Linked DNA regions of Homo sapiens: regions 1, 2 and 4 are each linked to region 3. Evidence: promoter capture Hi-C in 16 types of primary human blood cells and fetal thymus (Javierre and others, 2016). All regions are on one chromosome and are shown on one strand. The core of a region is centred on a gene start or on the middle of the fragment in contact, and the rest is flanking DNA. Distances in the headings are between cores, read along the strand shown.

The links. The method cuts DNA at HindIII sites, captures the fragments that hold promoters and counts their contacts. A CHiCAGO score of 5 or more calls a contact.
Region 1: a fragment that was not itself captured here is called in contact with the fragment with the promoter of NTN1 in region 3 in 1 of 17 cell types (naive CD4 T cells); the score reaches 5.7 in naive CD4 T cells.
Region 2: a fragment that was not itself captured here is called in contact with the fragment with the promoter of NTN1 in region 3 in 1 of 17 cell types (endothelial precursors); the score reaches 6.4 in endothelial precursors.
Region 4: a fragment that was not itself captured here is called in contact with the fragment with the promoter of NTN1 in region 3 in 5 of 17 cell types (naive CD4 T cells, naive CD8 T cells, total CD4 T cells and 2 more); the score reaches 6.0 in naive CD4 T cells.

The regions. Positions count from the first base shown.
Region 1 is chr17:8,560,389-8,567,711 of GRCh38, forward strand. The region is part of intron 7 of MYH10 (myosin heavy chain 10); the gene reads right to left. It also overlaps the pseudogene PPIAP52 and the pseudogene RPS26P53. Among named protein-coding and RNA genes, the nearest start is that of MYH10, 67 kb to the right of the region's middle. The HindIII fragment of the contact is 1,029 bases long and covers 2,866-3,894 here.
Region 2 is chr17:9,506,671-9,514,091 of GRCh38, forward strand. The region is part of intron 4 of STX8 (syntaxin 8); the gene reads right to left. Among named protein-coding and RNA genes, the nearest start is that of STX8, 65 kb to the right of the region's middle. RefSeq lists enhancers at 1-569, 570-1,437. The HindIII fragment of the contact is 1,391 bases long and covers 4,987-6,377 here.
Region 3 is chr17:9,016,139-9,022,981 of GRCh38, forward strand. It overlaps NTN1 (netrin 1), which reads left to right and starts at 5,372. Exons shown (of 7, transcript NM_004822.3): 1 at 5,372-5,447; 2 at 6,173-6,843. The coding sequence starts at 6,236. RefSeq lists enhancers at 919-968, 4,770-5,313 and silencers at 4,734-4,783, 4,834-5,623. The HindIII fragment of the contact is 7,248 bases long and covers 2,933-6,843 here.
Region 4 is chr17:8,754,137-8,760,767 of GRCh38, forward strand. It overlaps SPDYE4 (speedy/RINGO cell cycle regulator family member E4), which reads right to left and starts at 4,410. Exons shown (of 7, transcript NM_001394956.1): 1 at 4,138-4,410; 2 at 3,126-3,356; 3 at 2,242-2,300; 4 at 1,384-1,469. The coding sequence starts at 4,246. The HindIII fragment of the contact is 197 bases long and covers 2,738-2,934 here.

The DNA.
Region 1 (7,323 bases), core at 2,130-4,629, 460 kb before region 3:
AATAGGAAAGGAAGTTAGGTTCAAAGGAGAAATGGGGCTTTGTAGTCATCGCTGCCACCTGAAGCCACCTGCCTCTAGCCATGGTCAACGCCACTGTGTTCTTTTGACATCATTGTTGATGGTAACTCCTTTGGCCCATGCAGCTCCTTCGAGCTGTTTGCCGACAAAGTTCCAAAAACAGTGGAAAACTTTCGTGCACTGAGCACTGGAGGAAAAGGATTTGGTTATAAGGGTTCCTGCTTTCACAGAATTATTCCAGGGTTTATTTTATCTGCCAGAGTGCTGACTTCACACACCATAATAATGCCAGTCCATCTACCAGGAGAAATTTGATGATGAGAACTTCATCCTGAAGCACACAGGTCCTGGCATCTTGTCCATGGCAAATGCTGGCCCGACACAAATGGTTCCCAGTTTTTCACCTGTGTGGCCAAGACTGAGTGGCTGGATGGCAAGCACAAGGTCTTTGGCAAAGTGAGAAGAGGGAGTGAATATCATGGAAGCCATGGAGTGCTCTGGGTCCGGGAATGGTGAGACTGGCAAGAAGATCACCACTGCCAACTGCGGACAACTCTAATCAATCTGCTTGTGTTTGATCTTAACCACCAAATCATTCTTTCTGTAGCTCAGGAGAGCATCCCTCCATCCCACTTGCTCACAATATCCTGTAATCTTTGTGGTCTCACTGCAGTTCTTTGGTTTCCTTATTCCCCTCGACATCAAGCTGGATTGTAGTTAAGTTTAGGATTATAAAATAAAAACTCAGTAACAAAAACAAACAAAGGAGAAATGGGAGAAAATTAAGATTTGGGGCCTCTCCTCTCCGGTCCGTGCCTCCAAGATGACAAAGAAAAGAAGGAACAAAGGTCGTGCTGAAAAGGGCCGCGGCCACGTGCAGGCTATTCGCTGCACTAACTGTGCCCGATGCATGCCCAAGGACAAGGCCATTAAGAAATTCGTCATTCGAAACACAGTGGAGGCCGCAGCAGTCAGGGGCATTCTGAAGCAAGTGTCTTCGATGCCTATGTGCTTCCCAAGCTGTGTGTGAAGCTACATTACCGTGTGAGTTGTGCAATTCACAGCAAAGTAGTCAGGAATCGATCTCGTGAAGCCCGCAAGGACCGAACACCCCCACCCCGATTTAGACCTGCGGGTGCTGCCCCATGTCTCCCACCAAAGCCCATGTAAGGAGCTGAGTTCTTAAAGACTGAAGACAGACTATTCTCTGGAGAAAAATAAAATGGAAATTGTACTTAAAAAAAAAAAAAAAAGATTTGGGGCCTCTGAACAGGTGAGCTGTAGAGAAATGTTCCAAAATAATTCAGACATGTGGTCACTTACTTAGATAAATAAGCAAAGTCACCAACATGCAACACTCTATTCCTCATCAGTTCCCTAGCTTGGTGTCCTTTTCACACCTAGGGTCCATAGTGGCACTAGCCATGATAGTGAGTGCCAGTGAAATATCTTTCGGCTAGATGCAAAGGGCCAAGCAAAGAGCAGTGAAAGAAGAGATGCATGGAGAACAATGATGAAGGAGACAGGGCTGCAGGGGCCTGTGGTGTGGAAGGAGGCAAAAGAGAACGGTATTTCTGAAAATATATTTGGTAACCAATAAATCTCAGTTATAAGCCAAAGCACTAACATGTATTCTATTTTAAAAACACTTTAACAAAACAAAAACCTTATGAAGTTGAAAATTATCAACTTTCTAGCTAAATGACACTCATACTCAGATATTTTACAAGACATAGCCAAGCACTTTGACAACCTGACAAAGTGAAATTTCAGAAGCAAAAATGAAAAACTTTACTGAATATCCCCAAGTGATCTAGGACTTAGATTATTCCCCTTCATGTTGGATACGCTGGCAAATCAGGTAAGATGCAGGCCATGGGACCTGACGTCACTTGAGTGTTGGCCACTTGGCCAGATAAGCAAAGGTGACTTTTCTTTCTTCCTTGGCGGCAGGCCGAGGGGAGAGAATATCTGTTAAAAGTTAAAAAAGCTTTCTCCTCACATCTATAATAAATACTTTCAGAATTAACATTTTTATTGAAACACACATCTAGACTAAATTGGAAAATACGAGTTTTACTTTTAAGTGGGAACGCTATCTTTAAACATTATGTGAAGAAATCTGTGCCGAAAATGCCCACTCCATAATTGATTTGCATAAAGGTCAGATTATGGTACTTAGAATATTCAATCGGAACTTCACCAGTAAAAACAAAAGCATGGAAAACCCCCAAAACGTGACAAGTACCTTGTGTATTAATTACAGCTACACATTTTGATAACGCTTATTGTATACCAATCCAGAAACAAGTGAAATTACACGTGTACTGTGAGAGCTCTCAACAGCAAAGACAACTAGAATTCTCTCATATATAATCAAATATAACTTGTTAAGGATTTCACTCAAAATGTGCAATAGGGAAACCCGGATATTTGATATTTTCATACCCTGAAGAAAATAAAATGAAAATTATCTTAATTAGTTTCAAAAATTTTGTTTGTTCTGAATTGACATCGATTTCTAGAATCTTTTCTGGGGTGATTATAATGTATCTATAGTAACTAAAACTAGATTAGTTATTAGTTAGCAACTTAATTTAGGGGCAATGCAGGTTTGTTTCATATTCTGAACATATTTTCCCCCTTCTTAATTTGGCATCTAAAGTTATTACATGATCTGCAGTATGCATTAAAACACATCAGCACAGATAGGGTGCTATGCATGTGTGTTAGCTATTTGCCCTAAATGAGAAAATCCATTCTAGGAGTAATGAGCTAGCACTTAATCCAAAGGCCAGATGGCCACCTTAAATGCTTTAGCTATCTTAATCTCCAAACCAAACCAGAAGCTTTGTTGTTAGTAAAATGAGTTTTCACATGCACTAAGTGGCCTCATTACTTAGTATAATGGATATTAGAAATCACTAGGGTAACATGAGTGGCATTAAGCCATGGACTGATTAGAAAGAGATATATATTAACTTCAAATAGAGCCTTAAAAAAAGATAAATACATAAATAAAAACAAAGAAAGATATATATAGACCCTCCCCAATCCGGGGTCAAGGGAACAAGTGTTGAGACTCCAGCAAGTCCAGGAGGCTGTATTGTTGGGGGTGCTCCTAGAGCTTGATACTAAATGGCTGTGTGCAGCCAGTGATCTGGAAGATGCTGGTTGCCTGGTGCAGACCATATTCTGTCACTGATACTGTCACATTTGCCTCAGTAAATCTTTCAGGTAAACGTTTGGTTAGAGAAATTAAACAGAGCTGGGCTGCATGCAACTTACAAAACTGTTTTCAGCAACTGCCTTTTGATAAATAGATATGAGGGTGCAGAATCCGGACGTGCTTTCATTATAACCTGGTCGCCAAACTGTAAGGAGGATGCCTAGAGCCCTTACCTAGCTTTAACTGCTGGAGGATACTTATCTACCAAGAGGTACATAATAGTTGGAAATTGCCAGCCTGGCTTAAGTCAACTTGGAAAAAAAAAAAAAAAAGAGAGAGAGAAAGAAAATAAAAGGAAAGAAAAGAAGGATTTGTGGAAATAGAGAAAGTGATTCTAACTAAAACTCTGTGAGGGAAGATGTACCTGCTGATCCAAACAATCATTTTGAAATTGAAGTCCCTGTTTTTAAAGTTTCATTATGAGAGATTCTTTTTACATAAATCTCCTCCATCTGGAACGCATTTTACTTCTCCATAAACAGAGAACTGGACTAACTGTGAACGATTATTTTCTTAAGGGTAATGCTCTCCTAAATAAAGAATCCCTTTAATATAAACCATATGCTAGTATCTTTGAAAGAAAAGATATTCTTCAGGAAATTAGTCGTCTATATCAGATCAAAGAAATGGAACCAAATGGATTCTAAAGCTTATGGAGTTTATAGCCTCAAATATTTTCACTGTAAGCATGTAGCTTATAAATATGACTGCATGAAATTTCACTGTATACACAACTCATTTTTTAACATCGTACTACTCTTGGTATGACATTGATCTCAACCCAAGGCCTGGCCTGCCCACGGAGCAACTGCCTCCCTCATGTTCTCTACCCTTGCTTCTAAAATGGGGGCATGCATATTCTCAGAGGATCTAGCATATGCACTACCTTCCCCGAGCTCAACAACATCATGACATGCCGTTGAAAACATATTAAAGTTAACACCAATATGAAGGTGTGCTCTACAGGGCTAGGGAACCTTAGTTTTGACCACTGGTATATTCCCAGGGCCTGGAAGAGTGTATGGCACTTTGTAGTGTCTGCCACATTTTCAGTAAATGAATTCCATAAAATCCATAAATATACCTGTGGGGCACTATGCTAGGAACCAAAGATACAAAGTCCCTACTGACAAAGATCTTAGACATTCTACTAGGAAAGATAATAAATACACAAAGTAATTAGTTACAGCTTGTGATAGGTGCCATGAGGGAAATAAACAGGATACTGTGATAGAGAATAATAGAAGAAATATCCTCAGATATGGTTTTAGACTAACTAGCTAGTTAGGAGAAGAAATGTGGACAGATCTGAAACACCTTCTAGATGTTTAACCAACAGGATTCACTGTTGGCCTGGACGTGGGCCATGAGAAAAAGGCTGATTCCTAGGTATTTTGTCTTTCTAGGTTTTGCTATTGCTTTTATTTTAAGTTTAACCAACTGGGTGATTTCATAATACCATCTATTGATGTAAGACATAAAGGAACAAATTTTGAAAGGAAAGGAAAAACTTTCATTTGGAATATGTTAAACTTCAAGAATCTATTGACATCCATTTGGAGATATCAATTAAGCTGCACAGTGGCTGGCAAATAATAGGTGCTTAATAATTAAAAGAACTAAATAACAAATCAAACATCAAAATTACACAGAATTGAATTTAAAAATGAGTCTACAACAGTTTCTTTCAAACCCCAAGAACCAACACCAATAGATAAATATTAAAGGGGAATTTTAACTGAACATTATTTAATCAATGGACCTAATTATTTTTAATGGAGCTACTGAGATCAACTACTTGTTTTAGTACTGTGTAGGTAACACCTTATGATAACAGTAGATAGCAATAAACTATTACTAAAAAAAATACGTATCAATAAAAGTTGACTTTCTAAGAATTAAAGCCCAAAGTAAACAATTTAAAGATATCTCTGTTTCTTGGTCGAATTGAAAGCTACGTCTAAGAACAATGCCCTAATAAAAAATCTTTTTTCTACTAAAAACAAATCAGCTTTTACTATATTAGAATGCACTTATTATATAGTAGTGCAGGCACTTTGGAAGGTGGCACTTCAGCTGAAATAGCATTTGTTGAACATTTGGATTCAATGGCTAATTCCTGCTTCTTTCCTGTGTGCTGCTTCCAGGTGGCTAGAAAACAATCTAATTCTTCCTACCAGCAGAATGTAAAATAGGTTTCTATCAGACTTGATTGTCAACCTTTGGAATAGGATGTATACATAACAAGCATTAAATAGACTCATGTATTACTTTGCAAATAAATTTCAGAAAATAATTACCTTAATTTAGACTATAATTTGAAGGAACGATCTAGAGCAGGGTTTCTCGATCTTAGCATAACTGGTATTTTGGGCTCAATAATTCTAAGCGGTGGGGACTGTGCCATGCATTGGATGGTATTTAGCAGCATCCTTGGCCTCTACCAACTAGATGCCAGTGGCACACCACTACCCAATCTCCCAGTTAAACAAAGAAAGATGTCTCCAGACACCGCCAACGTCCCTTGGGGAACCTCCAATTAAGAACCACTGACCTAGAGTCACTCCAGTTACAGGTTAAAACCCTACATACATCAATGATGGAAATCACTGTAAGGATTCATAGTAGCCATGATAGCCAAGACCACCTCAATGATCCCCACCTCTGGTATTCACAGTTCCCTCCCACACAGTATCAGGGTTGGTTTGTATAACCAATAGAAGACAATAGAAGAAGGCATGTGATTTCCAAGGCAGAGTGTGTAACTTCTGTCTTTCTCTTGGATCACTTGCTCTGGGAGAAGCTGGCTGCCATGTCATGGCAACATTCAAGGAGCCCTATGGAGAGGCTGCCTCCAAAGCCAGGAACTGAGGCCTCCAGCCAAGAGCCATGTAGGATAGGGACCTCCCACCAAGAGCTACCTGAGGAAGATTTGAAGGAGATCCTCCCACCTCAGTCAGGCCTTCAGATGACTACAGCTGTAGCCAACATCTCAGTGACGACCTCCTAAGAGACCCTGGGCCAGAGTCACCCAGCTAAGCTGCTACTGACTTTCTGACACACAGAAACCATGAGATAATCGATGCCTGAAGCCACCAGGTTTTAGGATCATTTGTTACGTAGCAACTGATAACTAATATAGAATTATATCTGTCCAAACACTAAAATAATGAGTTGAAACACACCCTGGCAGGGGGATAAATCCTTACACTTCGTAACAGAACCACTACATTCTTTACCCAAGGACACAAATGACGGCTTAGTAGCAATTTATCTTTTCCAGGAAAAAGCGGGGCCACTGAGCACCAAAACTGTCTCTCTTGAATTTAGGGTATGGTTTGAGGGCTGGGGGTGGGGGAAACAGAATAGATTAGTAACTTGATTTCTGTGGTAAGATAAACAATTTTCCACAAAGAAGTCCTTGAAGATCTTGATGGAGATTCACATACCAAAGCTGGCAGCTCACTGTTCCTTCTTTCCTGTGATATAGCCACTAAACACAGGGCATTTCAGTAGGAAAATTTCAGATTTAGTTGTGGCTCAGGCTCAATGGGGATGATCCAGGAGAGTGACGGAAAGTCTGAAGGAATGCAGTTTCCTCAGATCGTTTCTAAACCCACGAGTCAAGTCACAGGCATGCCTCCTACTGACACAGGCACATTTGTTAACCCACTTTGCACATAAAAAGCTAAATTAATTACTAAATGAACTTGGATTAAGTGAATCTTCAAATTTTATCTTCCTGGGAATAAACAATATTCCAAGAAAATACATCCCTATTTCTTACATAACTTGGAAAGCGTCTTGCACTGAAACTATCTCTGAAGGTGCTATGGGCTGAAATGCGTCCCTGCACAAATTCCTGTGTTGAAGTCCTAACCCCCAGGACCTCATGATGGAACTGTAATTAGGAAGAGGGTCTTTAAAGAAGTCATTACATTAAAAAAGGGTCATTAGGGTGCACCCTACTTCAATATAATTGGTGTCCTCATAAGAAGAGATTAGGACACAGACACACACAGAGGGAAGGCCACGTGAAGACATAGGGAGAATACAACCATCTATAAGCCAAAGAA
Region 2 (7,421 bases), core at 4,432-6,931, 490 kb after region 3:
GCCACTGCAAACACCTACAGTCCTTATTACAGGAGGATCCCCCAGTCCTTGCAAGTTCTGAGCCCAGTTTGGAGAGCTGCTGGGAATTCGTACAGTTGCACTGCCCCAGATTAGGAGCATTCCCCACTCCCCACCCACTCCATGAGCCAAGTTACTACAGCATGGCGCCATCTTTAGACCACAGCTCCCTCTGGAGTGTGCCTTCCTCTTGGGGCCAGTAGCCACTGCACCTTTCCAGCACTGGGACTCCATTTTCATGCCACCAAAGCTACACAGGTGGCTGAACTCCACAACCCAGGGCTCGGGAATGGCTGTGACTCTGGTCCTGCAATGAAGGGAAACCACCCTCTGCACTTTCAGCCACAGAAACAGTCCCACCCAGGGCAAACCCACTCTTGAGCCAACCAAACTGCTGCATACCCTCCTGCAAGCAGAAGGCCCTGAGCAACTGACAGGCTAGCAGAGTGACTACGCTCCTGCATCCCGGATCTATGAAACAGTCGGGCAGTGCAGCCCCCTACAGACATGCCCCCGGCCTGCCCAAAGGCCCCACACCTCAATCAGGGCCTGAGAAACAACCCTGCAGGCTGCCCCTGGCAGACATACCCCCAGGCCAGCCAAGTAGCCATGTGTCCATATCTCAGGCCTGAAAAACAGCCCATGGGTCACCCCTAGCGGCAACTCCCCTAGGCCAGCCGAGCAGCCTTGTGTTCATATCCCGGGTCTGAGAAGCAACTCCTCAGGCCACTCCTGGCAGACATGCCCCCGGGGCCATCAAGCAGACTTATGCCCACCTCTCATGCCTGAGAAATAGCCCTGTAGGCTGTCCCCAGCAGGCATTCCCCACAGGAGAGCTGAGCAGCAGTGTGCCCATGTCCCAAACCTGAGAAACAGCCCAACAGGCCACCTCTGGCAGGCATACTCCCAGACTGGCCAAGCAACCAAGCAACTGTGCCCTCAGCCAGAGTAAGGGCACCAACCCCAACCCCAGCAAGTGAGACCCCAAGTTGGACAACCCACCATGTGAACGCATGCATCGCTGACCTGACAAATAGCCCGGTGAACACATCCCTGGCAAAGTCATGCCACCACCACCACAAAGCCTCTCAGCTGAGGCCACTGAGACACTCACAAATGTCACTGGCATGGATTACAGTTAAAGAAACTACACAAAAACTACACTACTATGCCCACCTGGAACCAAAGCCAATGCATCCCACTGAACCAACACCCCAAGATCCATTCATACAAATATTTCTTTCCCTGCAAAACCTACCACATAAAATTGGAAGAGGCAATTATTCCACCAGATGCATAGACATCAACATAGGGATACATCGAACATGAAAAAGCAAGGAAACATGACACCTCCAAAGGAATACAATAATTCCTGTGTAATAGACCCCAATGATAGAGAAATATACAAAATGACAGAAAAAGAATTCAAAATAGTAATCTTACAGTGAGATACAAGATAATAGAGCTAGACAATTTGATGAAATCAGGAAAACAATTCATGACTTGAACAAGAAATTCAACAAGAAGATAAATACCATAAAAAAGAACAAAACAGGTATCCTGGAGTGGAAGAATTCAATGAATAAGTAAATAAGTACAAGCTAGAGCTTTACCAAAAGACTAGACCAAGCAGAATTTTATTTATTTATTTTTTTGGAGACAGGTTCTTACTCTGTCACCCAGGCTGGAGTGCAGTGGCATTATCTCAGCTCACTGCAACCTCCACCTCCTGGGCTCAAGTGATTCTCCCTCCTCAGTCCTCCTGAGTAGCTGGGACTACAGGGGCATGCCATCACATCCAGCTAATTTTTGTATTTTTTGGTAGAGATGGGGTTTCACCATGTTAGCCAGGTTGGTATCGAACTCCTAATCTCAAGTGATCTGCCCGCCTTGGCCTCCCAAAGTGCCAGGATTACAGGTGTGAGCCACCATGCGTGGCTGAATTTTTGAACTTGAAGACAGATCTTGTGAAATAACACAGAAAGATGGGGGGAAGAAAAAGTAAAATGGAATGAAGAAAGCCTACAGAATTCATGGGACACTATTAAGTGAACAAATATTCACACTGTAGGTGTTCCAGAAAGAGAAAAGAAGGGCAAATGTACAGAAAACATTGAATGAAATAGTAGCTGAAAACTTCCCAAGTCTTGGGAGCTTCCAGATCCAGGAAGCTAAAAGAATCCCAAATAGATTCCATTCAAACAGGACCCCTCTTAGGCACATTAGAGTCAAATTATCAAAAGTCAAAGACAAAGAATTCTAAAAACAGCAAGAGAAGGACTGGATGTGGTGGCTCATGCCTGTTATCCCAGTACTTTGGGAGGCCGAGGCTGGCAGATCACGATGTCAGGAGTTCAAGACCAGCCTGGCCAACATGGTGAAACTCTGTCTCTACTAAAAATACAAAAAAATTAGCTGGGCATGGTGGCAGGTGCCTGTAATCCCAGCTACTCAGGAGGCAGAGGCAGGAGAATCACTTGAACCTGGGAGGCGGAGGTTGCAGTGAGCTGAGACCACGCTACTGCACTCCAGCCTGGGCAACAGAGCAAGACTCCATCTCAAAAACAAACAAACAACAATGACAAAAAGAAACCAGCAAGAGAAAAGCATCAAATCACCTATGAGGGAGTTCCCATTAGACTAATAGCAGATTTCTCAGCAGAAATCTTACCAACCAAGAGAGAATAGGATTTTATGTTCAAAGTACTAAAAGAAAAAAAAAATCTGCCAACCAAGAATATTACATGCAGCAAAGATATCCTCCAGAAATGAAAGAGAAATAAAATCTTTCACAGACAAGCAAAAACGAAGGTAATCCATCACCACTAGACCAGTCTTACAAGAAGTGCTCAAGGGAGTATTACATCTGGAAGTGAAAAGATCATAACAGCCATTATAAAAACATGTGACACTATAAAACTCACTGGTAGAGCCAATATACAAAGGAAAAAGAGAAAGAAATCAAGCCTTATCACTTCAGAACACTACCCAACCACAAAAATAAACAGTAAGAGGAAGTAAGGAACAAAGGATATAGAAAACAGCCAGAAAACAATAAAATGACAAGATAAGTCCTCACCTATTAATAATAACCTTGAATGTAAGTGAATTAAATATCTCATTAAAAGACATAGACTGGATAACTAGATTAAAAAAAAAAAAACAAGACTAGACTCAACTATATGCTGCATAGAAGAAACTCACCTGACCTACAGACACACATAGACTGAAAGCAAAGGTATGGAAAAAGATATTCTACGCAAACAAAAACCAAAAGCAAGCAGGAGTAGCTGTACTTATATCAGACAAAACAGACTTCAAGTCAAAAGTTGTGAAATTAGACAAAGAAGGACATTACATAATAATAAAGGGATCAATTCAACAAGAGAATGTAACAACTGTAAATATATACACATTCAATACCAGAGCACTCAGATATATAAAGCAAACATTATTAGCTCTAAAGGGAGAGATAGACTCAAATAGAGTAATAGCTGGAGATTCTAACATCTCACTCTCAGCATTGGACAGATCATTCAGACAGAAAATCAACAAAGAAACATCATATTTAAACTACACCACAGAACAAACAGACCTAACAGATATTTATGGAACATTTCACCCAACAGCTACAGAATATACATTCTTGTCAACAGCACATAGAACATGGACTGACCATATGTTAGGACACAAAACAAGTCTCAAAAATTTTTTTAGAAATTGAAATCATACCAAGTATCCTATTTAACCACAGTGGAAAATATCAATAACATGAGGAACATGCAAAATGATACAAACACATGGAAATTAAACAACATGCTCTTGAACAGCCAGTGAGTGAAGGACAAAATTAAGAATGGAATTTTAAAATTCCTTGAAGTAAATGAAAATAGAGGCACAACATACCGAAACCTATGGGACACAGCAAAAGTAGTACTATGAGGCAAGTGTATAACAATAAATGCCTACAATAAAAAACTAGAAAGATTTCAAATACCCTAACAATGTATCTCAAGGAAACTAGGAAAACAAGAATAAACCAAACCCAAAATTAGTAAAGGAAAGAAATAATAAAGATCAGAGGAGAAATAAATGAAATTGAAATAAAAAATGTATTTAAAAAATCAACAAAATAAAAGTTGGTTTTGTGTAAAGATAAAATTGAGATACCATTAGCTAGACTAAGAAAAAAAGAGAGATGACTCAAACAAATAAAATCAGGCAAGAAAAAGGAGACATGACAATGGATGCCACAGAAATACAAAGAATCATTACAGGATACTACAAACAACTCTACACCAATAAATTAAAAAACCTAGAGGAAATGGATAAATTCCTGGACACATACAACCTATCAAGATTGAACCAAGAAGAAATTTTTTTAAAACCTGAACAGACCAATAACAAGTAATGAGATTGAATCAATAATATAATCTGCCAACAAAGAAAAGTCCAGGACTGAATGGCTTTCATACTGAATTCTACCAAACCTTTAAAGAAAAATGCATACCAATTCTTCTCAAACTATTCCAAAAAATTGAAGTGAGGGTATTCTACCTAACTCATGCTAAGAGGCCAGAATAACCCTGATATCAAAAGCAGACAAGAATACAACAGAAAAAGAAAAGTTCAGGCCAATATCCCTGATAAATATACACACAAAAATCCTCAATACTAGCAAATGAAATCCAACAATACATCAAAAAGATAATATACCATGATCAAGTGGAATTTATCCAATGAATGCAGGAATGGTTCAACATACACAAATCAATAAATGTGATATATCACATCAACTATAAAGGACAAAACCCACATGATAATCTGAATAGATGCAGAAAAAAATTTGATAAAATTCAACATCTCAATTAAAAACTCTCAATAAACTAGGTATAGAAGGAAAGTACCTCAACACAATAAAGGCCATATATGACAAACCCACAGCTAACATCATACAGAAAAGGTGAAAGCTTTGCCTCTGAGAACTAGAAGACAAGGATGCCCACTCTCATCACTCTTACTCAACACAGTACTGGAAGTCTTAGCCATGGTAATCAGACAAGAGAAAGTAATAAATGGCATTAAAATTGGAAAGGAGAAAGTCAAATTGTTTCTGTTTGCAGAAAACATGATCTTATAGAGAGAAAAGCCTAAAGACTACCAAAAAAAAACCTCTCAGAACTGATAAACAAATTTAGTAAAGTTGCAGAATACAAAATCAACATACAAAAATCAGTAAGTGGTGTTTCTATAAATAATGAACTAGTTGAAAAAGAAATCAAGAAGACAATCTCATTTACAATAGCAATCCCCCCGCCAAAATTACCTAGGAATAAATTTAACCAAGGAGGTGAAAGATCTCTAAAAGAAAAACTACAAAACACTGATGAAAGAAATTGAAGAGGATACAGACAAAGGCAAAGTTATTTCATGCTCATGGATTGGAAGAATTAATATTGTTAAAATGACTATACTACCCAAAGCAATCTACAGATTCAATGCAATCTCTATCAAAATACCAATAACATTCTTCACAGCAATAGAAAAAAATCTTAAAAATCTGCATGGAACCACAAAAGACCCTGAAGAGACAAGCGATCCTAAGCAAAAAGAACAAAGCTGGAGGCATCACACTACCAGACTTCAAAATATACCACAAAGCTGTAGTAATGTACTACAATGCTGTTTTTATGATACTGACATAAAAACAAACACACAGACCAATGGAACAGAATAGAGAACCCAGAAATTAATCCATGTATCTAGAGCCAACTGATCTTTTTTTTTTTTTCCGAGGCAGAGTCTCACTCTATAACCCAGCTGGAGTGCAGTGATGCAATCTTGAGTCACTGCAACCTGTGCCTCCCAGGCTCAAGTGAGCCTCCCACCTCAGTCTCCTGAGTAGTTGGGATTACAGGCACACGCCACCACACTCAGATAATTTTTGTAGAGACGGGGTTTCACCATGTTGCCCAGGCTGGCCTCAAACTCCAATCTGCCCACCTCAGCCTCCCAAAATGCTGGGATCACAGATGTGAACCCAGCCAAGCCTACTCATTTTTAACAGAGGTGCCAAGAATACTCACTGGGGGAAGACAGTCTCTTCAATAAATGGTGTTGGGAAACTGAATATGCACATGCATAAGAATGAACCTGGACACCCATCTATCACCCTAAGGAAAAAATCAACTCAAAATGATTCAAAGACCTAAATGTAAAACCCAAAACCATAAAAGTACCAGGCAAAAACAAGGAAAACACTTCAGGATGTTGATCTGGGAAAAGATTTTATGAGTCAGACCTCACAAGCACAGGCAACAAAAGCAAAAAGAAACGAATGAGATTACAACAAACTAAAAAGCTTCTGCACAGCAAAGGAAACAGTCAATAGAGTGAAAAGACAATCTATAGGAGAAAATATTTGCAAACTGTTTATCCAACAGAGGATTAATATGCAAAATATGTAAGGAACTCAAAATATCTCAATGGCAAAAATCATAATAATAATTGGATGGAAAAATGGGCAAATGAGCTAGGCATGGTGGCATGCACCTATAGTCCCAGCTACTCAGGCTGAGGTGGGAGGATTACTTAAGCCTGGATAACATAGTGAGACTCTATTTCCAAAAAAAAAAAAAAAAAAAAAGATACACAAAATATGTGAAAGACAGACAAATGATCTGACCAGACATTTCTCAAAAAATGACACACAAATGCGCCAACAAATATATACAAATTGCTCAGCATTACTAATCGTCAGGGAACTGCAAATCCAAATCACAATGAGGTATCATCTCATTCCACTTAGAATGGCTATCATCAAAAACACAAAATAAATGCTTGTGAGGATGTTGTGAAACAGGAACTCTTATACACAGATGGTGGAAATGTAAACTAGTACAGCCACTATGGAGAGCAGTATGGGGGTTCCCCAAAAAACTATAACTAGAGCTACCATATGATCCAGCAATCCCCCTACTGGGCACTTATCCAAAGGAAAGAAAATCAGTATTTTGAAGAGATATCCACACCCACATGTTTACTGCAGCACTATTCACAGTAGGCAAAATATGGAATCAACCTATCCAACAACAGATGAATGGATAAAGAAAGTGTGGTATACATACACAACGGAATACAATTTAGCCATAAAAAAGAATAAAATCCTGCCATTCACAGCAACATGGATGGAGCTGGAGGACGTTATTATATTAAGTAAAATAAGCCAGGAACAGAAAGCTAAACACTGCATGTTCTTACTCATACGCAGAAGCTAAAAACAAAAGTTGATCTCATAGAAGTAAAAAGTAGAACAGAGCACACCAGAAACTGGGGAGAGTAGGGAGAAGGGGGAGAGCAAGAGATTTGTTAAGGGACACACAATTATAGTTGGACAGGAGGAA
Region 3 (6,843 bases), core at 4,122-6,621:
GCTGTCCCACCTTCTACATCTCATCCTTAGAATGACCTCCCAGTCAATTTCACTCTTTTCTTTCTTTGAAGACACCAGCACTGGTCAGTCTTCGTCTCTGCCCCAAACTCTGATGCTGGTTCCAAAGGTCTTTAGAGCCCAGGTGGACAGCCCGTCCAGCACCGTGGCCGTCTCGTCTCTAATCACCCTCCATTCTGCCTCACAGCAGAAGTCCCCCTCTTATTGTCCTCGGAAGGCCTTGTCATCCCCCAGAGCTGTTCCACCTCTGGAATCCTCTAGTTTTGGACCACAACCTCCTCAGTTATTCCCCACCTCATAGTCTTCTCTTTTCTTGAATCCTTTAGCTATCCAACAGAATTTCCTGTGATAAGGGAATTTTTCTTTATTGGTGCTGTCCAAATTAGGGGCAACTAGGCAACTAAGCTCTCCATGTTACTCATTTTTAATTAATTCAAGTTGAAATTGAAGTAGCTACATGTGGTGACTGGCTACCATATTGAACAGCACAGCTCTAGCCCCTGGCCTCTCTGTTTCCTCTTCCATCCTGTCCTGTTTTCCTTCTTTCTTTGGCATTGTCGCCCTGGCCCATCATATCAGCCACCCACTCCCCTTTCCTTCTGTCCCACCTCCTGGAAAACACTCTCAACTTGAGATTAATCCAACTGTCTCTTTCTCTAGGTCTATCCAAAGGCTGCTGGGCGCTGCTGGGGAAGAGGGCATGTGTGTCTCATGGCCTTGCTGGCTGCCATTCTTTCTCATAGATAGTCACAAACTTCAATAGGCCCTTTAATTCTGCCCAGCAAGCATTATCCTCTTCTCTCTAATGACCTCAAGCCTCCAGTGCTCCCAGCTCCTCCCCCATCCTCAGCAGATGGTGTCACTTCCTATTTCATTGAAACAAGAGACACTTGGAGACCACCTGACCACCAGTTTTACAAGCATAGTTTTATCTGTCTTCCACCTCTCTCCTCCTGCTGGCTCCAGTTCCTATCAACATTTAGGCATGGTCAAATAGCCTTATCTTACAAACAACAATAAAAAATCCCAACCTTCCCTCAATCCTATGTCACCTTCCTGCTGTGACCCTCTATCTTTCCTGCCACTTATATTCACACTTTCTTGAAAGTTGTCTACACCTGCTATTTCCACTTTCTCACCTCCCGTTCACTCCACAACCCCAGACAGCCTGGCTTCTGTCCCTACCACTCCCTGCAACCACTAGTCAAGGTCACCAATGACTTCCTTGTAGTTTGATCCAAAGGACTTGTTTCAGATCTTATCTTGACCTTTAAGGCATGTGACTCAACACTGCTCAGCACCCCTCCTTCCTTGCAACGCTCTTACCCATTGGTTTCTATAACACCCGAGTCCCCTGGTTTTCCTCCTCCTCCTCTGGCTACTTAAAAGTTTTCTTGAAACTGCCGCATTCTCCCCCTCCTAGGGTGATCCGTCTGGCTTCACAGGTAAGACAGTGTGCCAGGAACGGTGTTTCCGCCTCTCAACGCATTCCTTGCAGAAACACCTGGTGATTTGCTTTCTCACCCAAAATCTGCACTGTTGCGTTTTGAACTCCAGTTTGCTCTGTGGATCCCGCTGCTTAGAGCCTGACATGCCTTCACGGGTGTGTATTTATCACCGCCACTTTAAGAACTTCTCACGACACTTGGACATCTGTTTTTTTCATTTGTCCCCTCAACAGACAGGCTGCGTTAGGAAAGGACACTGATGAATTAGAAGGGATGGAAGAGGCTGCAGAGTGGTCAGAAAACAATGTCCTATGGGAAATCATTAAGATAACTGGGAACATTTTGCCCAGAAGAGATAAAACTGAGGGATGATAGAGGACTGGTTTCAAGAATCTGAAGAGGCAGAGAACCTTGATCTGGGCTGCTGTGTAGCGTAGGGTTTGGGCCACCTGCAGACTTAACAGAGAGGGGGGTTTGGAATGGACGTAGAGGAGTTCCACCGTATTACAGGAGGTTCTAGACCTCCTGGATACAAGGTGAGTAAGACAGTCCTGCTCACCAGGAACTACTAAAGATGATAAGCGTAGACCTAAGTGACCACAATAAAACTGGAAGGTGACCCCGCTCATCCTCTCCTGAAGACCCCTGGCCTAAGCTCAGCTGGCAATGTAGAAAAGCCACACTCTACCAAGAGCCATTTCAAACTTACTGCCATGCAAGGGCCATCAAAAGCTCTGTGGACATAGGCTGGGCGCGGTGGCTCACTCCTGTAATCCCAGCACTTTGGGAGGCCGAGGCGGGCAGATCACTTGAGGTCAGGAGTTTGAGACCAGTCTGGCCAACATGGTGAAACCCCGTCTCTACTAAAAATACAAAAAAATTAGCCAGGTGTGGTGGTGGGTACCTGTAATCCCAGCTACTTGGGAGGCTGAGGCAGGAGAATCGCTTGAACCCGGGAGGCAGAGGTTGAGAATGCGCCATTGCACTCCAGCCTGGGCAATAGGGCAAGACTCCATCTTAAAAAAAAAAAAAAAAAAAAAGGCTCTGTGGACAGAAACAACATTCAGGAGGAAGGCTTGGAAAGCACTTCTCAATCCAGTCTTGTAGATGCTCCAAAAGGTACCCCAGTCAGCTGAGCACCCCAATTTGCTTCTTTTCCATTCCTCTTTGCTGGAATGTCTTTTCCTGACTTGGGTTTTGATGCGATGCCATCAGCTTACATTCAGGGGGATCACAGAAACTGTCCAACCGAGCTCACTGTTGTGACTGTTTTGGGGATGTTGTCAGGGACGTTTGCTCATTACCCCATACTGTGTTCCCTTTCTGGGCCACGCCCCCACAAGAAATTCCTATCTGATTTTAGTACCAAGAATAGTTGTAATTCCCTTGAGCAGTAGGTCTGTTTTTATCTCATGGACACTGGGAATTGTGTAATGAACATGGTCTCCTCATTTTAGCTGCAGGAAAGCTTAGGGACAAATTTGTGGCCCACTCAGAAGAGGTGTAGAGGTTGGAACTCCAGGGTGCATTGGACCTGTATCCTCCTCTCGACTTTGTCTCCCTTCTTAGCTTTTCTTTGTTCTCTTACTTCATATTTTACTGTGCAAAACTGAGAGCATACAAGCAAAGATAAATAAAAATCACCTGTAATCTCATTATTCCGAGATAACCACTATTAACTGTGTTGTCTTTTTATGCATACTTTTTAAAAAATTAAAATGACATTATACTGTGTGTTTTTAATTTGCTTTTTTCATATTATAATATGTCATGAACATCTTTCCCTGTAATTAAGTGTTCTCTAAATGATTTAAAATTTCTGTATAGATCAAGCGACCTCATACTAACAGCTAACATTTCTATATGCATGTACTATGTGCCTGGTTTTATGCATATTTACATTTGCATACATGAGAAAGCCTATTTATATGTGTTACAGACCTGCAATATGTATGTCTATATCCCATCAGCTATAATATTCAAATGTGTCAACTCACGTGATGCTCACAACCCAGTGGGGTAGAAAGTATTATCTCCCTTGTACAGATGGAGGAAACCAAGGCATAGACTTTCCATAGTCACACAGCAGAGGCAGAATTTGAACCCAGGTACCCTGGCTCCGAAGCGTTTCCTCCTAAGAGCTATGCTGCCTTTCAGTATACCATTGCGATTTCACAGGTCACCATGGTTAACCATTTCATTTATTTCCTTTGACCTCACTTTTAATTTGTTATTGTGTCATATTTTATGTACCCTTGTAAGTTACCTGAAATCCTTTCTGCCACAAGGTGAGGTAAGGCATAAATAAACAGTGCAGAGTGTGGTAAACGGCACAAGAAGGCACAGCTAAATTGCTACCCCGGGGTAAGAAGATGAATCCAGGCTGTCCTGCAATGGAATGGATTTATTTTCTTGAGCTGTGGTGAGCTCCCATCCCTGGAAGAGCTGGCTTGGGTGGCCGTCTCTCTGGGAGGCTGGGGAAGGCCTTCTTCCAAGGAGACGGAGCTGGGCCAGACGAGCCCCGAGGCCCCTTCTTAGATTCTCAGGGTTTATGAAAATGCCAATAAGACAAACTGAGGCACTTAATGGAGCTAATGCAGCAAGGCAGCCCTTGGGCCGGAACCAGGACCTGGGGCTTTTCATCCGGGTCTATTACTGGACCACACATCTACAAGTAACAAATAAACGAGCAGAGATTCCGTTCCAAACTCTCGGCCCAGTGTATTCCTTTCCCAGAGCTCTCTGGCTGCTGTTGCAAGATGACCAAAGGATGCTGTCACTGTCCTCAGTCTTTTTATTGGGGCGATGGAGAATGAGGCAAGGAGGGGCTGGGTGGCCCCGCAGATGCCCCATGACACCATCATTCGGCAAGGTTATGCATTTGACGAATGCCCTGCAGTGGAAGGAGCCCAGGCTTCTCTTCCTGTTTTTGATGTTTACTTGGGGGTTGATCTTGTGCGAGTTTCTTCAGCTCCCGGGACCCTCAGTTTCCTCATCTGCAAAATGGAGTTAATACAACAGCAAAGCTGCTGTGGAGGTCCCATGAGCTATTACAGGGCTTTGCACCCTTAAAAATGCGGTTGAGGAAGTACCGATACGCCTGCCTCAGGGGATCTGGGGAGGGCTGGGCTGTCCCCATGCCTGAGACCAGGCAGGCCCGTCTTGGAGGGGCGGTGGCCAGCGTCCAGGTGCTGCCAGCTTCCTACCCCTTCAGCCTCCTGCCCACCACTGCTCCCTTGGCTAGAACGAAGCCGCGTTCCCGACAGACAGGCTCACGCACGGTGATATCCGTGGGAGTGCGGGCGAGCAGCCCCTCCTCGCCGGACCCCGGGGGCTTCGGGCAAAAATGGAGAGCAGGCAGAGGTCACATCCTCCTCCTCTTCCTCACGCTCCCGGGCTGCGTGCCCACAGGGGCACAGCCCTGTGCGCGGTGCCACCGGGGGCCATCAGGCTGGGTTAGAGGAAGGCCCGACCTCCGCGCAGCAAAGAAAACAAACACAGATGTGTTTGGCTGGGACCGGGAGGGAGAAAGTGGCCCCCTTCCCCCGCCCGCGCGCTCCCCCGGGCGTGAGGCTCTCCGGGCGGCGCGGGGCGCGGGCGAGGCTGACAGTCCCCGGCGGCCCCTCCTCCCCCACGGGGTGCGCGCCTGGCCCGGCCCAGCCCCCTCTCCGGGGTTTCCCCGGGTGCTCTCCTCGCTTTCTCTTTGTCTCTGCTGTTCTTTCTCGGGCTCCCGGGTTCCCACCCGCCTGTGCTCTCCCTCTCGGGCGTCCGGGCCGGTTCCCTTTAACTTTCTTCTTTCCCGGGGTGAAAACTTTGCTCGGAGCTGGCGGCAGCTCGCGGACGTTATTGGCCGGCGCCCCGCCCGGCGGCCCCGCCCCCCGCCCCCGCGCTCCCCTCCGCCCCTCACTCCCAGCGCGAGTGGCGGCGGCGGCGGAGCCTTCGGGGGCGAGCGCGCGTGTGTGTGAGTGCGCGCCGGCCAGCGTGAGTGTGTGTGCGCCCCGGGCGCGGGCAGGGCAGCACTCCGAGCTCGGCGGGAGCGGCGGGAGCCGGGCGGCCGCGTAGTCACTCGGGCGAGAGAGGCGGCGGCGGGGCCGGGACCGGGGCTGGGGCTGGGGCAGCGGCGGCCGCGCCGGGCATGGAGCTGGCAAGCCCGCGCTGAGGCGGGACGCGCCTGCTAGCAGCGAGCGAGAGGCTCTCCGGCGACCGGCGCGCGGGCTCCCCGGAGGGGCCAGGCAAACTTTTCTTTCTCTTTTGCCCCCTCCAGAGGTAAAGTCCCGAACGCGGACTTTCCGGCGGGGACGCGATCGGGGGGCATCTGAGAGGGACCCCGGGCTGCGAGACGAAGGGGCGCGGGCCGTGCAGAGTCGGGGTCCCCCAGCTCTCCTGCGCCCGAAACTTGGGGTGCGAGGGGGGCTGGTCGCGGACGGGGAGACCGGCTCAGGCATGCCCCTCGGGCGGCGTGGGGGCGGCGGTGGCGGGGAAGCAGAGCGTTCTCCCGCCGGGCGGGGAAGAAGGGGCGCGAGCGGTGCGGACTTGGAGGGCCCCGGCTTCGCCGCCCGCGGGACTTTGGGGGAGAGAGGCGGGCAGTCGGCTGCGGGGTGGGTGCCCAGGAAGCCGGGCGTTCTCCCGCATCTCCGCTCGCCACCCCGCCGAGAGCTGGAGGGCGCGGGGCGGGCTGGCTGAGCGCAGCTCCCTTCTCTCCGCAGGCGCCTTCTGCGGCAGGCGGACAGATCCTCGGCGCGGCAGGGCCGGGGCAAGCTGGACGCAGCATGATGCGCGCAGTGTGGGAGGCGCTGGCGGCGCTGGCGGCGGTGGCGTGCCTGGTGGGCGCGGTGCGCGGCGGGCCCGGGCTCAGCATGTTCGCGGGCCAGGCGGCGCAGCCCGATCCCTGCTCGGACGAGAACGGCCACCCGCGCCGCTGCATCCCGGACTTTGTCAATGCGGCCTTCGGCAAGGACGTGCGCGTGTCCAGCACCTGCGGCCGGCCCCCGGCGCGCTACTGCGTGGTGAGCGAGCGCGGCGAGGAGCGGCTGCGCTCGTGCCACCTCTGCAACGCGTCCGACCCCAAGAAGGCGCACCCGCCCGCCTTCCTCACCGACCTCAACAACCCGCACAACCTGACGTGCTGGCAGTCCGAGAACTACCTGCAGTTCCCGCACAACGTCACGCTCACACTGTCCCTCGGCAAGAAGTTCGAAGTGACCTACGTGAGCCTGCAGTTCTGCTCGCCGCGGCCCGAGTCCATGGCCATCTACAAGTCCATGGACTACGGGCGCACGTGGGTGCCCTTCCAGTTCTACTCCACGCAGTGCCGCAAGATGTACAACCGGCCGCACCGCGCGCCCATCACCAAGCAGAACGAGCAGGAGGCCGTGTG
Region 4 (6,631 bases), core at 1,586-4,085, 260 kb before region 3:
CATAAGGTTTTGTTGAATAAATGAATACATGAATGAATGAAGGAAAGAAGGAAAGATTTATCTTATAGGCAAATGCCATATGAATTATTCCATAGAGTCAATATAACATGAGCACTTGCAAAATGAAAAGAATTGTGCTGAGTGTTTCAGGAATACTTTGATATTTTGGCTGATTGGGTGGCTCATGTCTATAATACCAGCACTCTGAGAGGCTGAGGTGAGAACCCAGGAGTTCCAGAACAGCCTGGGTGACATAGCAAAACGTCATCTCTACTAAAAATCATAAAAACTGGCTAGATGTGGTGGCATGCACCTGTAGTCCCAGCTACTCAGGAGGCTGAGGTGGGAGCTTCACTAGAGCCTAGGAGATGGAGGCTGCGGTGAGCTATGATCTGGCTACTGCACTCCAGCCTGAGGGACAGAGCAAGTCTCTGTCCGGTAAAGATAAAAACAAAAAACTTTGATATTTTGACAAGACCCTGCCTTCAACAGGGGTCTACTCTGATGGGTTTGGGGAAAAGGAGGGCAGATAAACGAATCCAAAATGTCACATTATCCTAGGATGTCACTAAAGTGCTGTGGGCGTGCAGAAGCTGGAAGATCAGGGGAGGCATTGCAAAGGCTGTGGGGTTGAACTGACTTTAAGGAATGGGTCATTCCCTTCAGATCCACATGTGTGCAGGACACCCAGACAGAAAACACAAAATCAAAATGGAGTGGAGGGCATTTGGAAGGAGTGGCGAAAGCAAACAAGGAAAGATGAAGATGGTGGGCAGGTTTGGTGGTAGAAGGACTGCAGAGAGGGTTGAATTAGCCCTGTGGACCCGGGCCTCCGTTTAGAGACAAATCAGCTAAGGAGGTTGTTCAGGTGGGCAGTGAAGGGGGGGTGGGAGCTGTGCTTTGGAAAGCTATTCAGGCAGCACTAGGAAGCCCCCTGGCTTGGGGCAGGACTCGCAGGAATGCCCAGCAGGGAGTATTTGATGATGGATCTGTGTTATGCGAGGACGACCTGAATTTCTGCCTCTGTCATGGGAACCTGGAGAAGGAGGATGGAAAATTGCATTTGGTGTTGATATGGGAAGGAGAGAGACGAGAGAACCAGAAATGGCTGCTTGCTTGGGGAGCAGGGTCGTGTCCACGGCTTTCCTTTCCCCTTAGGACGGGTTTATGTTTCCTTTTGTTTGATTCTACTATTTGTCAACTGCATTTGTGTTTGTTTTTAGAAAGAACAGACTAAGAACACCATAGTATAATCTTATCGTTTTTATATACAGAGTAAAGAGGAGAAGTAGGGTAAAAAAATAGATGGAAGGTTGGAATCCCACTTCGTCCACTGTCCCAGGGTGTTGGATATTGACAGATGGGAAGAAGCAAACTACTCACAGAGCCAGGAAGAAATGAATGCGTTGGTATTGCCACGAGAAGAGGCCGGCACGGCTAAAATACGCTATGACCATAGCCAGGAGATACTGATGGAGAGAAGGGAGTAGAGAGAGAGAAAGGTTGGTCACATCCTGGAAGAGGAAGATGGTGGAGAGAAGGGAACAGGGGCTGGGGCGCGGTTGTCTATCACAGAAGGAACCTCAGTGTTGGGTGACTATGCTCATTGGGGGCTTGCGGGTGGAGAGTGTTCAAAGTCAGCTGCAAATCCGGGAAGTCGGAGGGAGGGAGGTCTGTGATGCTCCCATGATGATGAGCTCCAGTGGGATCACTGGAGGGAGAGTGTCTAGGGCTGCTAATGTCAGGAGGGTCTTGGTGAGCTGGGGCAAAGGACTGTCCCAAAGATCTGAGAGGATAGGGGTCAGGAGTTTCAAGACTGGCCCAGGGCCTGGATTCCAAAGGACCCTGTGCAGAGGCAGGGGCCACCCATCAACTATGCAACAGGCTACCAGAGCCCCGAGGGAGATGCTGACAAATTATGAGAAGACCTAGAATAGCTGGGGGCGGTGACTCACGCCTGGAGTCCCAGCTATTGGAGAGGCCGAGGCGGGAGGATCACTTGAGCCCAGGAGGCTGAGGCTGCAGTGAGCTATGATGGCAACACTGCATTCCAGCCTGGGCAACAGAACGAGACCCTGTTTCTGAAAAAATAAAAATCAAAATGTGGGCGCCCAAGAGTATGGAATCAGCAGGTGGGAGATGGTAGAGGGAGAGAGGAGAGAAACTGTGGGTTTAGACGCTGCACCCTTCCCCAGGACGTGTGTTAAAGCAGGAACACAGTTGAGTGGAGAACAACCTTACCTTGTCTGACACCCTCAGGTCTTTGTCCCAGGCCAGGAATTTTTGAACGACAGGATCCCCTGTGAAAAGAGAGCCTGTGTCAGGGTGAGAAGTGGAACAGGGTTGCCGTGGGAGCAGCAGAGCAGAGAGGAGAACTGTGTCCCTCTGGGGGAAGTCTCAGGATTGTGGCCAAGGCTTAGGTGGATGGGAGAGGAGAGAAGGACTTTCACTGGGCAAGGAGGGAGGCTCCCGCTCTGAGATTCCCCTGAGGAGAGGCCGAAGGAGGCCTCTGGTGTCAGAGTCTACAGGATGAAGAGCTGTGAATAAGCCATGATGTCCTCCCATCAGACAGGAAGGGACCACTGCAGAAGTCATAATAGAATTCCCATCATTGCTTCCTGAGATAGTCACAGCTGGGTGTGCCCATGGCCTTGTTATCCCCCTCCACGGATGGAGACACTTAGGTTTAGAAAAGTCATCAAGAGACATAGAGTTTCAGAGGGTACAGCTGAAACCAAGCTTTCTTTTATCTTTTATTTTATTTTATTTTATTTATTTTATGACAGGGTCTTTCCTTGTCAACCAGGCTGGAGTGCAGTGGTGCAATCATAGCTCATTGCAACTTCAAACTCCTGAGTTCAAGAGATCCTCCCGCCTCAGCCTCCCAAAGCACCAAGATCTCAGGCATGAGCCACTGCACCTGGCCAGAAACCAAGCTTTCTTATTTCAAGTGCAGACCTTTATTAAGACTAGCCTAATCCTCTATCTCCTAAGCATCCTCCTCCTGCATGGAGCGCTCATCCCCCAGGAGGGCATATTCTTCTTATTGGGAAAGTGTGATTATTGAAAGATTCCACTTTTTTAAAAGAACAGGGTTGGAGGTGCTTTTTGGGGTATCCTCCTACCAAGGAGCCTGTTGAAGGCCTCGTGGTGCTCAGGGAGCACGGAGGATGCTCGCTTTCGCTTCAGCTTCATCTTGAGCCCACACAGCGTCTCCACCACCCAGGTGTCCTCGGGCTCAGGGGCGCGCTCCAACTCCAGCTCCTCCTCCAGCTCCTCCTCGGATTCGTCTGACCATTCGCTCTTCCTTTTCAGGCCAAGGGATTGAGGCTGGGGGCTGGGATCTATCCAAGGGGCTGAGTGAAGAAACCAGGCCATGGTGTCATGTTTCTGCCATTGATCACCTTAGACGCCCCGACCCAGGAACCTCAAACTACTCTTCCATCCTCCCAAGCCTCGCAGACTGTCAGCTTCTCCAAGCCATGTTTCCACCTTTCTCCTTTGCTGATCCCCATCTGCCTCTCCCTCACCTCCCCATTCTTCCGGCTCTCTGTCCTCAAAACATTTCCTCATCACAGATAAGAACTTTCAATTGGAGAAAAATGGAAACCTTCCCTTGAGCTCTGTCTGCTCTCTCTCTCTCTCTCTCTTTTTTTTTTTTTTGAGATGGAGTCTCCCTCTTGTTGCCCAGACCGGAGTGCAGTGGCACAATCTTGGTTCACTGCAACCTCCGCCTCCTGGGTTCAAATGATTCTCCTGCCTCAGCCTCTTGAGTAGCTGGGACTACAGGCACGCACCACCATGCCCAACTCACTTTTGTATTTTTGGTAGAGACAGGGTTTCATCGTGTTAACCAGGATGGTCTCGATCTTCTGACCTCGTGATCCGTCCGCCTCGGCCTTCCTCTCTCATCTTTTGAGCACATCTCCTGACCCCCTTCATTGCTCCCCAGACTTTCTTTACACGTGGCCATGCTTGGCCCCATTCCCTGCACCCTCCTTCCCCGATCCCTGGCTTCCTGAGTCCGTCGTTTCTTTCCCACACACCCTACTCAGGTGCTTCAGATTCCCAGTAACTGGCCCCCTTCCCTCTCCTCAGTCAATCATCTCCCATCGCTTCTCCCTCCAGTCACCTCACCTGATGGTCCTGGCACTTCATCATCCACCACCACCTCGGGGGACCGTACCGTTGTGCTAGGCTGGGGGCTCTCCTCCTCAAACGGGGGGCGCGCTTGACCACTGGCCATAATCTCTCCCAAACACTTTGTTTCTGTCCACAAAACCTAGTCCCTGTTCTGTCCAAAGCCTTCTTCCAGACTCCGTTAGGACCCAGAAGAGTGCGTTTCTCTTCTAGAGGCTCGGGAGAAGTTAGGAGTGAAGAGTAGTTCTGAGAAGTTGCTGTTGTCCACCTGAACTCCCAAGCAACCAGAGTCCGGTCCTTCCAATCAGGAAAGTCGGAATCTCTGATGTCATCGGTCATTCCAAACTGGCAACTACTTTGAAGAAAAACACATGTAACTGCCAGACTGATCTCTTTTCTTGGAGATCCGGGGTGAACGGTATCTCCTGGCAATGTCCCAACCTCTGAGCATTGTCCAAAAGCATCCTCAGGGTCTCCACATTCCTCTTTTCCCTGTCCCAGCAGAGGCTGTGTCCTCTCCACTCTAAACTTGAGGGGGTGTTGGGCTCTCCTCCCCGCTTCTCCTTCCCATTTCAGAGTCTAGTCTGGTGAGAGAGGGAGGAAGGTGGAAGGAAATTTAGGGTAAGCAGAATGATGAGTCCTTCCAAGAGTGAGATTAACATATACAGGAGATCCTGGGTAAATTGACTTGTTGAATGGAGACGTTACGTCGAAGTACTCAATGTGGCAAAGCTTTTTTGCTGAATGTTTACTGATATTCACTATCCTGGATCCTATAGTAGGGGAACATGCATCCTTTGCTCTCAGGCATCTTTGAGTCCAAGAGACATTTTGAGGAATGAAAATCACAGGAGACTGTCCATGGTTTCGTACAGATTTTCAATGGTGTCCACAAGTTCAGGGCATCCATGGATCACCTAAAGCCTGCCCTCCAGTTCAGCTAAGGAACTCTGGTCTATATATCAACTATTACAACATATCTATTTCACTTGACCCCAAAATTTGCCTACTATTTATGTATTTTATGAATAAAATATCCTGTGTATAAAAAGACTAAGGGGAAAATCTCAGCCAGGCCCAGGGGCTCCTGCTCATAATCTCCCTCCTTTGGGAGGCCAAGGCAGGGCGTCACTTGAGGTTAGGAGTTCAAGATTAGTCTGGGCAACATAGCAAAACGTCATCTCTACAAAATATAAACAAAGTAATCAGGAATCGTGGCACACACCTGTGGTCCCAGTACTTGGGAGGCTGAGGCAGGAGGATTGCTTCAGCCCAAGTGTTTGAGGCTGCAGTGAGCTATGATTGCACCACTGCACACCAGCCTGGAGGACAGAGTGAGACTCAGTCTCAAAAATATTTTTTTCGGAAAAAATAAAAATGTAAGAGCTGGATACTATCTCAGATACCATCCAAAGAACCTGTGAGTTCTGGCACAGCTTCCTAATGGGCTCCTAGGAGTCTCTCGCTGATGGGAAAGGCACAACTGAATGAGGAGGCAGATCCCGTCGCTGTGGAAGTCCAATTGTTAGGAAACTCTGCTTACATTGAGTGGACCTTCGCATTCACGATGCTTTCAACCATCAGAACTGGTTGGATCCTTTTACAACAAAACAGAAAATCATCTTTCTCTCCTATTTAATAGGCTTTCAAACATTAGAAGATCAATATTCTGTTGCCATTAAAATTTCTCTTCTGTACCACGTAAAGTTCTGATTAATCACTCTTCAAGCCAGTTTTACATATTCCTCTGTCTTCTAGGCACCTTCTGTAGACAGGCTACAATAAGGCAGCCATCTTAAATTATGTCAATACATTGTCCAAAAATGAGCTAAACAGTTCAGGTTTCATCTGATATGTTCAGGGAAAAGCAAAACTATCACTTCTCCCCTTCTCTTTTCCTTCAGTGATGCAGGTTAATACAACAATGGCTGTAGCTATGCACCAAAGATATCATTAGAGTGAAACAGAAGGGCTTTATTGGCTGGCATGGTGGCTCCTGCCTGTCATCCCTACACTTTGGGAGGCCAAGGCTGGAGAATCACTTGAACCCAGGAGTTGGAGATGAGTCTGAGTAACGTTGTGAGACTCCGTCTCTCCAAAAAAATTTAAAATTAGCCTGGTGTGGTGGCACACACCTGTAGTCCCAGCTAGTTCGGAGGCTGAGTTTGGAGGAGAAGAAGTGCTTTGCAAATACCAGCCTTTCAGCCTAAGGATCTCAACTAGGAACATTAAGATACAGATGCCAGGACCCAGCCCCACAGATTCTAATTCCAAAGGACTGAGGTGGGGGCTGATTTAACTTCATCATTGGAGTCCATTCAGATTTGGAACTCTCTGGGTGGGGCAGCGCAATAGAGATCCCAAAGAAAGCAAAATCACTCTCGAATGAAATGAGCAGGAAAGATTTTTTGAGCGAGGTAAGTAAGACCTGGGCCTCACATGGGAGGGCTGTCACCAGGCTTTGTATCCTTGGCTTAGTGGGAACTTTTGA